Regions from separate parts of the Homo sapiens genome. Here region 1 is linked to region 2. The links are contacts of gene promoters, found by promoter capture Hi-C in blood cells and fetal thymus (Javierre and others, 2016). All regions are on one chromosome and are shown on one strand. The core of a region is centred on a gene start or on the middle of the fragment in contact, and the rest is flanking DNA. Distances in the headings are between cores, read along the strand shown.

Region 1 (5,742 bases), core at 209-2,708, 320 kb after region 2:
TCAATTGTATAGGAATACATACAATTGATTTTTGTATATCGATCTTGGATCCTGCTACCTTGCTGAGCTCATTAGTTCTAATAGTTTTTTAGTGGTTTCTTTAGGACTTTCTGTGTACAGGGTCATGTCATCAGCAAATAAAAATAGTTTTACTTCTTTTTCCAATCTCTGGATGCCCTTTACTTTTTTCTCTTTCCTAATTGCCCTGGGTAGGGCCTCCTGTACAACGCTGAACAGAAGTGGAGAGACGGGAAATTCTTGTCTTGTTTCTGATCTTAAGGGGAAAGCATACAATCTTTCACCATTAAGTATGATGTTAGTTGTAAGCTTTGTAGATGTCCTTTATCAGGTTGAGGAAGTTCCATTCTGTTACTAGTTTTTGAGTGGTTTTTATCATGAAAGGTTTTAGGGTTTTTTTTCTTTTGTCTATTGAAATGATCATGTGGTTGTTGTTATTACTGATGTGTTACATTAATTGATTTTTTGGGATGTTAAACCAACTTTGCCTTCCTGGTATAAGTCCTGCTTGGTCATTGTGTATAGCTTTTTTAAATATATTGTTGGATCCATTTTGTTAATATTTTGTTGAATATTTTTGTATATATATTCATAAGATATTGATCTGTAGTTTTATTATCTTGTACTATGCTTGTCTGGTTTTGGTATTGGGATAATACTGGCCTCATAAAATCAGTTAAGAAGTATTCCCTACTGTTTTGTTTTTTTTGAAAGAGTTTGTGAAGAATTGGTATTCTTTCAATGTTTGGTAGAATTCAGTGTAAAGCCACCTAGGCCTAGACTTTTCTCTGTGGATAGTTTATTATTATTATTAATTCAATCTCATCTCTTGTTGTAGGTGTCTTCTGATAGTTTGTTTCTTATTAAGTCAGTTTCAGTAGGTTGTATCTCTTTAGGAATTTGTTTCATCAAAGTTATCTAATTTGTTGGTGTACCCTTCCTTGTTCATAGTATTTCTTTATAATCCTTTTCATGTAATGTCAATAGTAATGTCCCCTCTTTTATTTCTGATTCTTGTAATTTGTGTCTTCTTTCTTTTTATGATGATGGTCAATCTAGCTACAGTCTTGTCAATCTTGATCTTTCCAAAGAATGTGATTTTAGCTTCATTAATTTTCTTTGTTCTTCTATTCTTTGTTTTATTTTCACTTTAATCCTTATTGTTTCCTTCTTCCTGCTTAGTAATCTGAGTAATCTGCTCAGATTAGTCTGCATGCTTTAGGTTTAGTTGGCCCTTTTTGTTTCCAGTGTCATGATTATAGATTAAGTTACTGATTTGAGATCTTTTTCTTAATATAGGGATACAGCTATAAATTTCCCTCTGAGCATTGCTTTAGCTGCATCTCATAAATTTTGATATATTGTGTCTTCACTATCATTAATCTCAAATTCTGATTTCTTTTTGACTTCTTTGAGCCATTAGTTATTTAGGAATGAATTGTTTAATTTCCACATAATTGTGACTTTCACAAATTTTTTCTAATTTCATTACATTGCAGCTGGAAAATACACTTTGTATTATGTATTATTTCTATCCTTTTACATTTATTGAGATTGTGCTGTTTTTATATGCACATATGTTTGTAATTGTATCTTCCTGATGGATCAATCTGTTTATCACTATAAAATATCCCTCTTTGGTAACATTTTTTTCTTTGAAAGGCCATTTTGTTTGATGTTAATATAGCTACTCTAGCTTTCTTGTGGCTTGCTGTTTGCATGATACGTGTTTATCCCTTTATTTTCAAGCTGTTTATATCTGTGAAACTAAAGTGTGTCTCCTGTGGACAGCATATAGTTGGATCTTGGTTGGTTGGTTGGTTGGTTGGTTGGTTGGTTGGTTGGTTTTGATCCTGTCTGGCTGTCCATTTCTTTTGATTGGGTTGTTTACTCCAATCACATTTAACGTTATTTATTGATATAGTTGGATTTATGTCTGCCATTTTGTCGTGTTATATATGTCTTTTGTTTCTCTATTCCTCCTTTATTGCTTTCTTTTGCATTAAGTGAGAATTTTCTAATTTATAGCATTTGAATTTCTTTACTGATTTTTTTCATTGACACTGCTTTTACTAGGCTTTTTTGGGTTTTGTATGTGAACTCAGATTACCGTCTGTGGTCACTGGCTTTCAGCCAGAAATTCTTATGGTATTTCTTGTAAGGCAAGTCCGCTACCAACAAATTCTCTGTTTGTTTTTTTTCTTTGTTTTGTTGTTGTTGTTGTTGTTGTTGTTGTTTTTATGGGAATGTCTTTGTTTCTCCTTCATTCTCGAAAGATAATTTTGATAGTATAGGATTCTTTGCTGAAATTTTCTTTTTCTTTGAGCACTTTGAATGTGTTATCACACTGCTTCTGTCTTCCATTGTTTCTGTTAAGAAGTCAGAATCTTTTTGGGGTTCCTTGTAAATAACAAGTGTTTTTTTCTCTTGCTGCTTTTAAGATTTTCTTATCTTTAACTTTTGCCATTTTTACTATGATGTGTCTGTCTGTGGATATCTTTGTGTTATCTTACTTGAAGTTTATTGAGCTTTTTCTGAATGTGTAGGTGGTTGTTTTTCAATAAATTTGGAGAAGCTTCAGCCATTGTTTCTCTGAAGTTTTTTTCTGCTCTTTTCTCTTTTCCTCTCTTTCTGATATTCCCATTATGTGTATTTGAAGGGAAATATAGCAAATAAAACAAAATTTTAATGCAAATATTTAAACCAAGCAGTTCTACCCACAGAAATTTATCTTAAAGTAATGGGCAAGTATACATGGATGTATGTACAAGAAAGTATATCCTAGCACATTTGTGTAGTAGAAAGGTTAGAAAAAACAGGAGGAGGAAGCTAAATACATTATGATATTCTGTACAGTGAGATATTATAATATACAATTTTTATAACTCAGGTGGAATATATTTGGTATGTTGTATAAGATGTATTTGGGATTTTAGGTTGTTTGTTGATACATCTCCTCTATACACCTGTGCAAGTTTCTCTGGGGCAGCAGTTATGTTTTCTATGTAGATATTCCCTACAATATGACAGGCCTCTTAACGTCTTTCTCCTCACCTCCCAGTTCTGGGTAGTAGGCAAAGGTCTTTCTTTTTTATTTTATTTTTTTATTTATTTTTGAGATGGAGTCTTGCTCTGTCGCCAGGCTGGAGTGCAGTGGCGCGATCTCGGCTCACTGTAGCCTCCGACTCCCTGGTTCAAGTGATCCTCCTTCCTCAGCCTCCCGAGTAACTGGGATTACAGGCAAGCGCCACCACGCCCAGCTAATTTTTGTATTTTTAGTAGAGACGGGGTTTCACCATGTTGGCCAGGATGGTTTTGATCTCCTGACCTCGTGAACCGCCCACCTTGACCTCCCAAAGTGCTGGGATTACAAGTATGAGTCACTGTGCCCGGCCAGCAAGGGTCTTTCTAAAGAACCCTAGGTTATACTACATGATTGAGAGCTCAGAACGAGGACTGCTTTTCTGGCCTAGTTTTTTTGATACCAAGTCTGTTCTGGCCTCAGCTTTGATTTACCTAATTATTTTCTGTCTTCTCCTTTGAGAATGTATATTCTTTTAACATTCTTTTAGACTAGAACCCATAGACAAAGAGTAACGTTTAAAGATTTTAGGCATTAAAAGCAGTCAGACTTCCTAGGTTCAAATTCTGGCTCTTAAGGACCTTGGGCAAGTTACTTAGTCTCTAAATCTCACTTCATAGTACCTATGTCTAAGGTCCTGAAAATTGGACACAAGTAATGTTTAAATAATTTTATTTCTGTCTTTCGGGGCCTTAGGGAAAGCCATAGAACTTTACATATCACCCATATGGCAGAAATATAAATACATACTGATCCTTTTAAGGATTTTATATTTTCCTTTTTTGCAGATTTGAAATAATGCTGTCCATTGGTAGAAAAATAATAGTATGACCTATGATCTACCAACAGTGATAAGGCTTACTCTTTGAATTTTGTTTTTCCAGTAAAATTAATTGATGGATTTGTACAGTGGATATCCAGTTAAAGGTATAGCCTTAAATCAATTCTTGACAACCCAGGATCTTTATTATTAGTAGTAGTAGTTGCCAAAAATAAAAGGCATGCTCACAGAAGCTTGTAAGGCCATGTGGTCCCAAATAAGTTGACTATGTTTTTAAATAGTTTATTGAGATATGATTTGTATATCATAACATTCACCCTTTGTAGGTGAACAATTCAGTAATTATCAGTAAATTTATAGAGTTGTGCAGTCATTACCACAATCCATTGTTAGAACATTTCATCACCCCAAATATCCCTGCTCCCACCCCAGCCCTAGGCAGCCACTGATCTGCTTTCTAGCTCTATAAATTTCTATTTTCAGGACATACAAGTGGAATCATACAATGTGTAGTCTTTCTGCTTCTGCCTTCTTTCACTTACATCAGTATTTCATTTTATTGCCAAACCATATTCCATTATATGAATATACTACATTTTGTCAACTCCATTTACCAGCTGTTGTACATTTGATTTGTTTCCAGTTTGGTGCTTTTATGGATAATGCTGCTATGAACATTTGCATGTAAGTCTTAGTGTAGGCTGGGCGCGGTGGCTCACGCCTATAATCCCAGCACTTTGGGAGGCCGAGGCGGGTGGATCACCTGAGGTCAGGAGTTCGAGACCAGCCTGGTCAACATGGCCTGTCTCTACTAAAAATATAAAATTTAGCTGGGCATGGTGGCGTGCCCCTGTAATCCTAGCTACTCGGGAGATTGAGGCAGGAGAATCGCTTGAACCCTGGAGGCGGAGGTTGTAGTGAGCCGAGATCGTACCACTGCACTCCAGCCTGGGTGACAGAGCAAAACTCCGTCTCAAAAAAAAAAAAAGTCTTTGTGTAGACATACGTTTTCACTCCTCTTGGGTAAATTCTTGGGGGTGGAATTATCAGGTCCTACGGTAAACTTACCACTAACATCTTAAGGAATTGCCACACTGTTTCCAAAGAGTACTGGATTGTTAATGATGGAAGCCTTCAGAATTTCTCTTTCCTTCTGTTACTTGCTGTTGTCATTATCCCCTGTTCCCTCTTCCCTGAATTTGCTGCTGTGGGCAAGGCCTGAGAATTAATGCAGGACATTAGGATGTCTGGGGTGCTTTGGGGGTGGTGTTTGCTGGTTTCTAGATGCTCAACTGTGTTCTAGACAAGATATTCCAAGATGTATGTATTAGTTGAGACTCTCATGCAGATGAGAAAACCCTAGTATGATAGGAGACATAGTCTACATGATTGTCAGAAGTGGAAGAAGAGACAACTCCTTAATAGCAAAGATGCTGAACAGCCAAAACAGTAGTGGATGTCTACTACATCAGATATTTGACCCAAATAAATGAATTGTTTCTATAATAATTTAGTTTGTTTTTGCCTGATTTGCAAAGAAATTGAGAACCTCAGTTGCTTGGCACACCCCAAATGTAAAAAGTGTTAACTGCAGAGGATAAATTATACCATTCTTTTTACATGTATGGTATAATTCTTTTTATATGTTTGGCATTTACAGATTACATTTTTTATTTAATTGGAAAAAATGTTATTTTTAGGATAAGAGTATATGTACAGTGCTTGTCACATAGTAGGCACCCAATAAATGATAACATTATCCTTTTTAAAATCTTTTTCTGAAACTCGTTTTCATTCTACATCCATTTTTTATGGTGAATGCATCTTGAGGGTAAATTATGCTTTTAAGAATGCTTTTTTC
Region 2 (5,673 bases), core at 251-2,750:
TCTATATAGATTTGTTCTGTGTCATGACGATTATCAACTAATATGCTTGGTATGTTCTTAGTCTTAGCATAAGCCCAACATAAAACCCTAAGGCCTTGTCAGCAATTTTCTGAACTTGTATCTGCCTGGACTGTGTGTGCCCATTAGTAGTTCCCCCAAATACCTACTGGCTTTTGAATAGCTTACTATTTCAAAAATTCACACCCCAGCTTCCCCTCAATGGGTTAGACGGACTATTGCACGTCTCTTCCCCTAATCTCTTGCCCTTGGCATCATACTACATTTCTACTCAGCACCCCCATAAATAAATAAGTTTATTTTAGTCAATTTCAGATCACTTCTTGACGCGTCCATGAGACAAGTAGGGGCCTTTTGATCCACCATATTGCTGAAATCACTCTGTAAAAGCTTTCAATGATTTTATATTATATTGTATCAATGTATAATAATTAACTTATTTCTCAACTTACTTTTTGGTTATTATTTGAGGAAAAGTAAATAGAACGAAATCAGGGCATTGCAAGTTCTGACAACTCCAAGATGTTGATAATGTATTGTGCAAACTACATTCATCATGTTCTAATCTGCCCTCCAAAGGAAGGAACAAGTGAAAACTATCCCACATGAGAATTATTCATCCATTTATATGTAATTAATTTCCAGTTTTTCCTTACAAATAATGTTTAACAAGATGACAGATTATATAAAATGGTTATCAGTTTTTTGGCTAGTTACTTCTTGATAGTCTGTAATAAACCTGGTTGAAGAACAAATACTATTAAGGCACTGCTTGCATATATTAAATGATGTCCAAACTCCAAAAACTGTTAATAATTAACACTCCAATAAAAACTACACCAGAATTTCTTTTTATTTGCACCCTCATCAGGATTACAGCTTTATCAGGACTGCATCTTCTTCAGAAATGAATATTTCTCTTACAACGCAAAGAAAGAAAAATCAAAATAAATTTTCTGATTGAAAATGTAAAAAGGCAAATATTTTTACAGTTTTAACTTTAATTTTTTATTGAGGACCAACTATTTGAAAAATTCTCATTAGTCATTCCTTTAAATTATGTGTATGTGAGAGAAAGACGTAAGATGGTTAATTATTTCAAATGATGCAGTATAAAGAAGGGGCATTATCACGGCAGAAACGAAAAAAGATATTTGTAGCTGGAGGTTTTTATAGTCTAACATATGGTTGCTATTTGTTCTACAAATCCTTTTGAATAATTTAATATAGAGATTTAGAATAGAAAATAATACTTTAGATAGAAATTAATGAGTTTATTATAACCATATATTATAATAATTTACTTAGGAATTCTCTTTGATAAGAAACAAATGAACTGAATGCAATTTTCTCCACAGACCATATAAGACTGCCTATGTACCTCCTCCTACATGCCATTGGTTAACCATCAGTCAGTTTGCAGGGGTGGGGGGAGGGGTTTCCTGCCCATTGTTTTTGTAATCTCTGAGGAGAAGCAGCAGCAAACATTTGCTAGTCAGACAAGTGACAGGGAATGGATTCCAAACACCAGTGTGTAAAGCTAAATGATGGCCACTTCATGCCTGTATTGGGATTTGGCACCTATGCACCTCCAGAGGTAAGAATAATTCCTTTTAGTTTTCGGATTTCAAAAGAATAAACCTAGTAGAAGTGAAACCCGTATTGGGTTGTAAGGTTCGTGTTCCTACCTTACTCTGGATGACTCACTGGTCTAGGTTTCCTAGGCTAGGAGAAAAAAGTAGGCAATCCTTGTTCTGCATTGAGGTCCATTCCTATGGTCACGTACTGCTTATTTTTCGTTTGTGCACTGTTTCTTTCTTCTGTTCATGTCTAGTTCCCAGCTTGGCAGAATATGTAAAACTCAGTATTGAAGAACACTGTTGGTCATCTCCCTCTGGTGGAGATTAATTGCAATAGGAGTGATTTCTCTGTTTCTACAACTGAAGAAATCTTTCCATCTTCCAAGAACATACGATCCAGAGAAATACTTATAGCAAAAATTACTGGATATGGTGTGCACAAAACTGTCGGCAGAGTATCACTGTTCTGATGGGCGGCAGTGAGTGCCACCCAGTATTACCGGACCTGGACTAGAGTTTCCACTGTACTATTTCACTTTTAAAAAGAACTTCCTGAAAGAAAAAAATACCACCTCATTTTAAGTAAAATCTAGAACCTAACAAAGGAAAGTCTAAATTCTTAGTCCTTTTTTGTATGCATCATATTTGTATCAAAGTGGTAGGAGTGGTCTTCTGACACAAAAATGAACAAAATGGAGACCTCATTTTCTAGATAGAACTTGTATTCCAAGACTGTCCTCAGGCTACTAAGTGTGTGAATAGGAACTAATTATTGAAATTTGAGTCTCTCACTTTATCGATAAGTTGTGATGATCTACAAGGATACATTTTCTAGACCAGTGACAAAAGTGGTTTAATTTTTAATATAAATTGGCATGGGCAGGAAATGAAAATAACGACACAACTGAAGCTCCAGCCTTGGTAAACCTTTGAGTGTTGGCACACTTAAAGACTGCTCTCAAAAAAGATTTAAAAAAAAAAAAAAAGACTGTTCTCAGGAGATGGCGGGGAGACCGTTATCTAGTTCCTTGTAATTTCAACGAAACAAGAAAGCTTCTTTAAATACATGTAAAAATGAAAACAGTTTATTTATATTTTTGTCATTAAAAAATACCTTTCAAATCTTTATCCAAATTTGGTCAATAAGTCAGTAATTTTAAATTTCACTGGAATTCTGTCTTTCCTGAAAGAGATAGCCTTATTTTTTATGGCAGAACTGTACCTTAGTAAATTCTTAACAGATTTCAGTGAATTTTTAATGTACAAATCGATATCCTCAGAGTATACATCTTTACCCCTAGTGTTCAGTTCTGTTGTGTAGCCAGAATGACTATGCAGAAAAGACTTAATAGACTACTATTCACAGATGCTTTATTTCCCAAGTGAACCCTAGTTGGGTCGATGTAACTAGCATCCAGTCAAAATCTCAAGAACTGAGACACCAAAGAACATCTCTTGTAGACAGCATTTCCCAAATACGATGTTGGAGGAAGTCTGAGTGAGCATTCTGTGTAATATCACTGGGAGAGAACTCATATGAGCTTGCACCGTTTCCCTTCTATACTCCATGTGATTTTTACCATGTATAATATCACTATATTAAAAATAATTAGGACTATTTCAGTCATGTTAACTTTTCCAACAAATCACTGAATCTGAGGGTGTTATTTGGTACCTCCATAACAGTGATCAACCAGAGATTGCCTGAGACTGAAGGTGTTTCTGGGATGCTCAACCTTTATTACTAACCAGGAAAGACTCAGGCAAACTGAGATGGACTTTTCACCCCACATACAGACAGGAGGAAAAGCTGATTCTTGTATAAAAGTCAATGCTTGTGCCTGAACTACCTCTCAGCCACAGTGATCACCAGATACTACCTTTGGTTGCTCCTCCAGGTTCCGAGAAGTAAAGCTTTGGAGGTCACAAAATTAGCAATAGAAGCTGGGTTCCGCCATATAGATTCTGCTCATTTATACAATAATGAGGAGCAGGTTGGACTGGCCATCCGAAGCAAGATTGCAGATGGCAGTGTGAAGAGAGAAGACATATTCTACACTTCAAAGGTACTGTGTCTATGATGAGCTTGTGTGCACATGTATTTATTGTGATTGTGTGGAGATGACAATTCTATGACTGGATGAGTAGTTGTGGGTGAATTTTGCTTCTGGGTTCAAATTTATTCACACATACTCACATACTAAAACTGAAATCAAAATCAAGGAATGATGATCACTTTTCATTTTGGCTGTGTTCCAATTTATGACCTGAAAGTCCCTTTACTTTTTTGAGCTTCAGCTGAGATCAGTGTGATTTGACATGTGCTATAGAATCACAGAGAACAATAATCATGTTATGGTTTTTCTTATCGCCTGGGTGATTTTCTAAGATTTCTTATTATTCTCTCAATTGCTATCTTTATCAGTGAGATAGAAAGCAATATAAGAAAGCTCTGGGAGTATTAAATAATAGACACTTAAATTGTCCTAAATTGTGTCCAGCATAGTGAGCATGTTCAAAACTTGTTTTACCCCCCTTTTATGTTGCTTTAGTTTCTAAGCAACATAAATAGCTATTCTTAAGCATTGGGTTGAATGGATAGAAGAATTAGACTGTTAAAATGAGTTGTAAACTCTACTGAAGATAATTCAGGTAACATCATAGTTATTACTTAATACTAATCTTTACATTTTAAGAATTTACTCCTATCATTCAGTAGATGTACAAACTATACATCCAACGTATAATAAAGTTTATAAGGATAGGTCAGAGCCAAAGGAATCATGAGAAGGAAGAGAATATGTTTGCCAGTGGTCATAAATTTTGAAGCAGTAGGAAAATATCTAAATACTAGATGGCACAAAGTAATAAGATTTGCTCAAGCATTCATTCAAAATCACCTCCATTCTTTAACCTCTGCAGCTTTGGTCCACTTTTCATCGACCAGAGTTGGTCCGACCAGCCTTGGAAAACTCACTGAAGAAAGCTCAATTGGACTATGTTGACCTCTATCTTATTCATTCTCCAATGTCTCTAAAGGTATGCAGTTTGTATGAGCATAAAATTGCGCTTCTGCTGTCATTATAAACATTGTTTATCTGGATAGTTGAACAGAGCTTTTTATTAGGAGGATGTAGGGATTATCACACAGAAGAAGAACCGTAAGTGGAACACCTAATTTCCTTTCTTTCGAGTAAATTTTGAATCCTACTTCTCTAATGCACACCTACAAGAGAAGAGAGTACAGCAACCTCAAAGCCTCTTCCTCAAAAACTTGAAATTACAATAGTCTCTTTCAAGGCACTGTCTTAGTTGTGGCTTTTGAGTCCATCTCTTGGGATGTTCCCAGACACAGAGTTTCATGCAGTTGTGGTGCCCAATAAAACTGCTGCACATGTGATGCACAATGAGTTTCCACCATCTCTCCCCATTTCAAGCTGAAGCAGATTTGGTGGAAGCCACTATGCATGGTTCTTAAATTAGAAACCCTTAATGTGGACTTGCAAAGCTTTATTATTCTGCTGCCTCTTCTTTCACAATAGAGTTTGAAGCTGTATTTAGCCAGGAATTACTGTGTAGTGTATAACTTTTGATTTAAAGTTACAGAAAACTACTCAGGCTAGTTAATGCAAAAGAGTTTACTGAGTTATGTAAAATGGGAAGTCAAAGACATGGCTACATTTAAGGATATGAAATAGTCTACAAAAATGTATCATTTGTCTATTCTTATCTCTAAACTCCAACACTTTTTTTTATTATTGTTGACCCAAACTTTTTCATTGGTGGCGATTATGGCTTTGGAGCAGCTCAAGGCTCATGGTCATCACCATAAGACAACTCCTCTGGGTCTCCCAACTTCTGCTGACCCTATGTGATTCACAGTCCTGCCCAAAGACTATCAACTCTTCAGGTGGTCTGATAATCCTACCGTGTACAAGAGTACAATCCATTATTTTTGGATATCAAGGTATTTCCAAATCAAAGAGAGGTACTTCAATAGAGGAAATTATAAGGGCGGAATAAAGTGACATAAGTCAACTGTGAAACTTGATTAAGACCTAGAAAATGGTCCTTT

Evidence for each region. Contacts are between HindIII fragments. The CHiCAGO score rates a contact against its expected background, and 5 or more counts as called.
Region 1: a fragment that was not itself captured here is called in contact with the fragment with the promoter of AKR1C3 in region 2 in 5 of 17 cell types (endothelial precursors, M2 macrophages, M0 macrophages and 2 more); the score reaches 8.0 in endothelial precursors.

Annotation. Positions count from the first base shown.
Region 1 is chr10:5,417,481-5,423,222 of GRCh38, forward strand. The region is part of intron 1 of NET1 (neuroepithelial cell transforming 1); the gene reads left to right. Among named protein-coding and RNA genes, the nearest start is that of NET1, 7.8 kb to the left of the region's middle. RefSeq lists an enhancer at 3,734-3,903. The HindIII fragment of the contact is 2,266 bases long and covers 326-2,591 here.
Region 2 is chr10:5,092,914-5,098,586 of GRCh38, forward strand. It overlaps AKR1C3 (aldo-keto reductase family 1 member C3), which reads left to right and starts at 1,501. Exons shown (of 9, transcript NM_003739.6): 1 at 1,501-1,615; 2 at 3,497-3,664; 3 at 4,521-4,637. The coding sequence starts at 1,532. It overlaps LOC124900291 (U8 small nucleolar RNA), which reads right to left and starts at 630; the gene lies at 495-630. RefSeq lists an enhancer at 1,344-1,638. The HindIII fragment of the contact is 2,243 bases long and covers 407-2,649 here.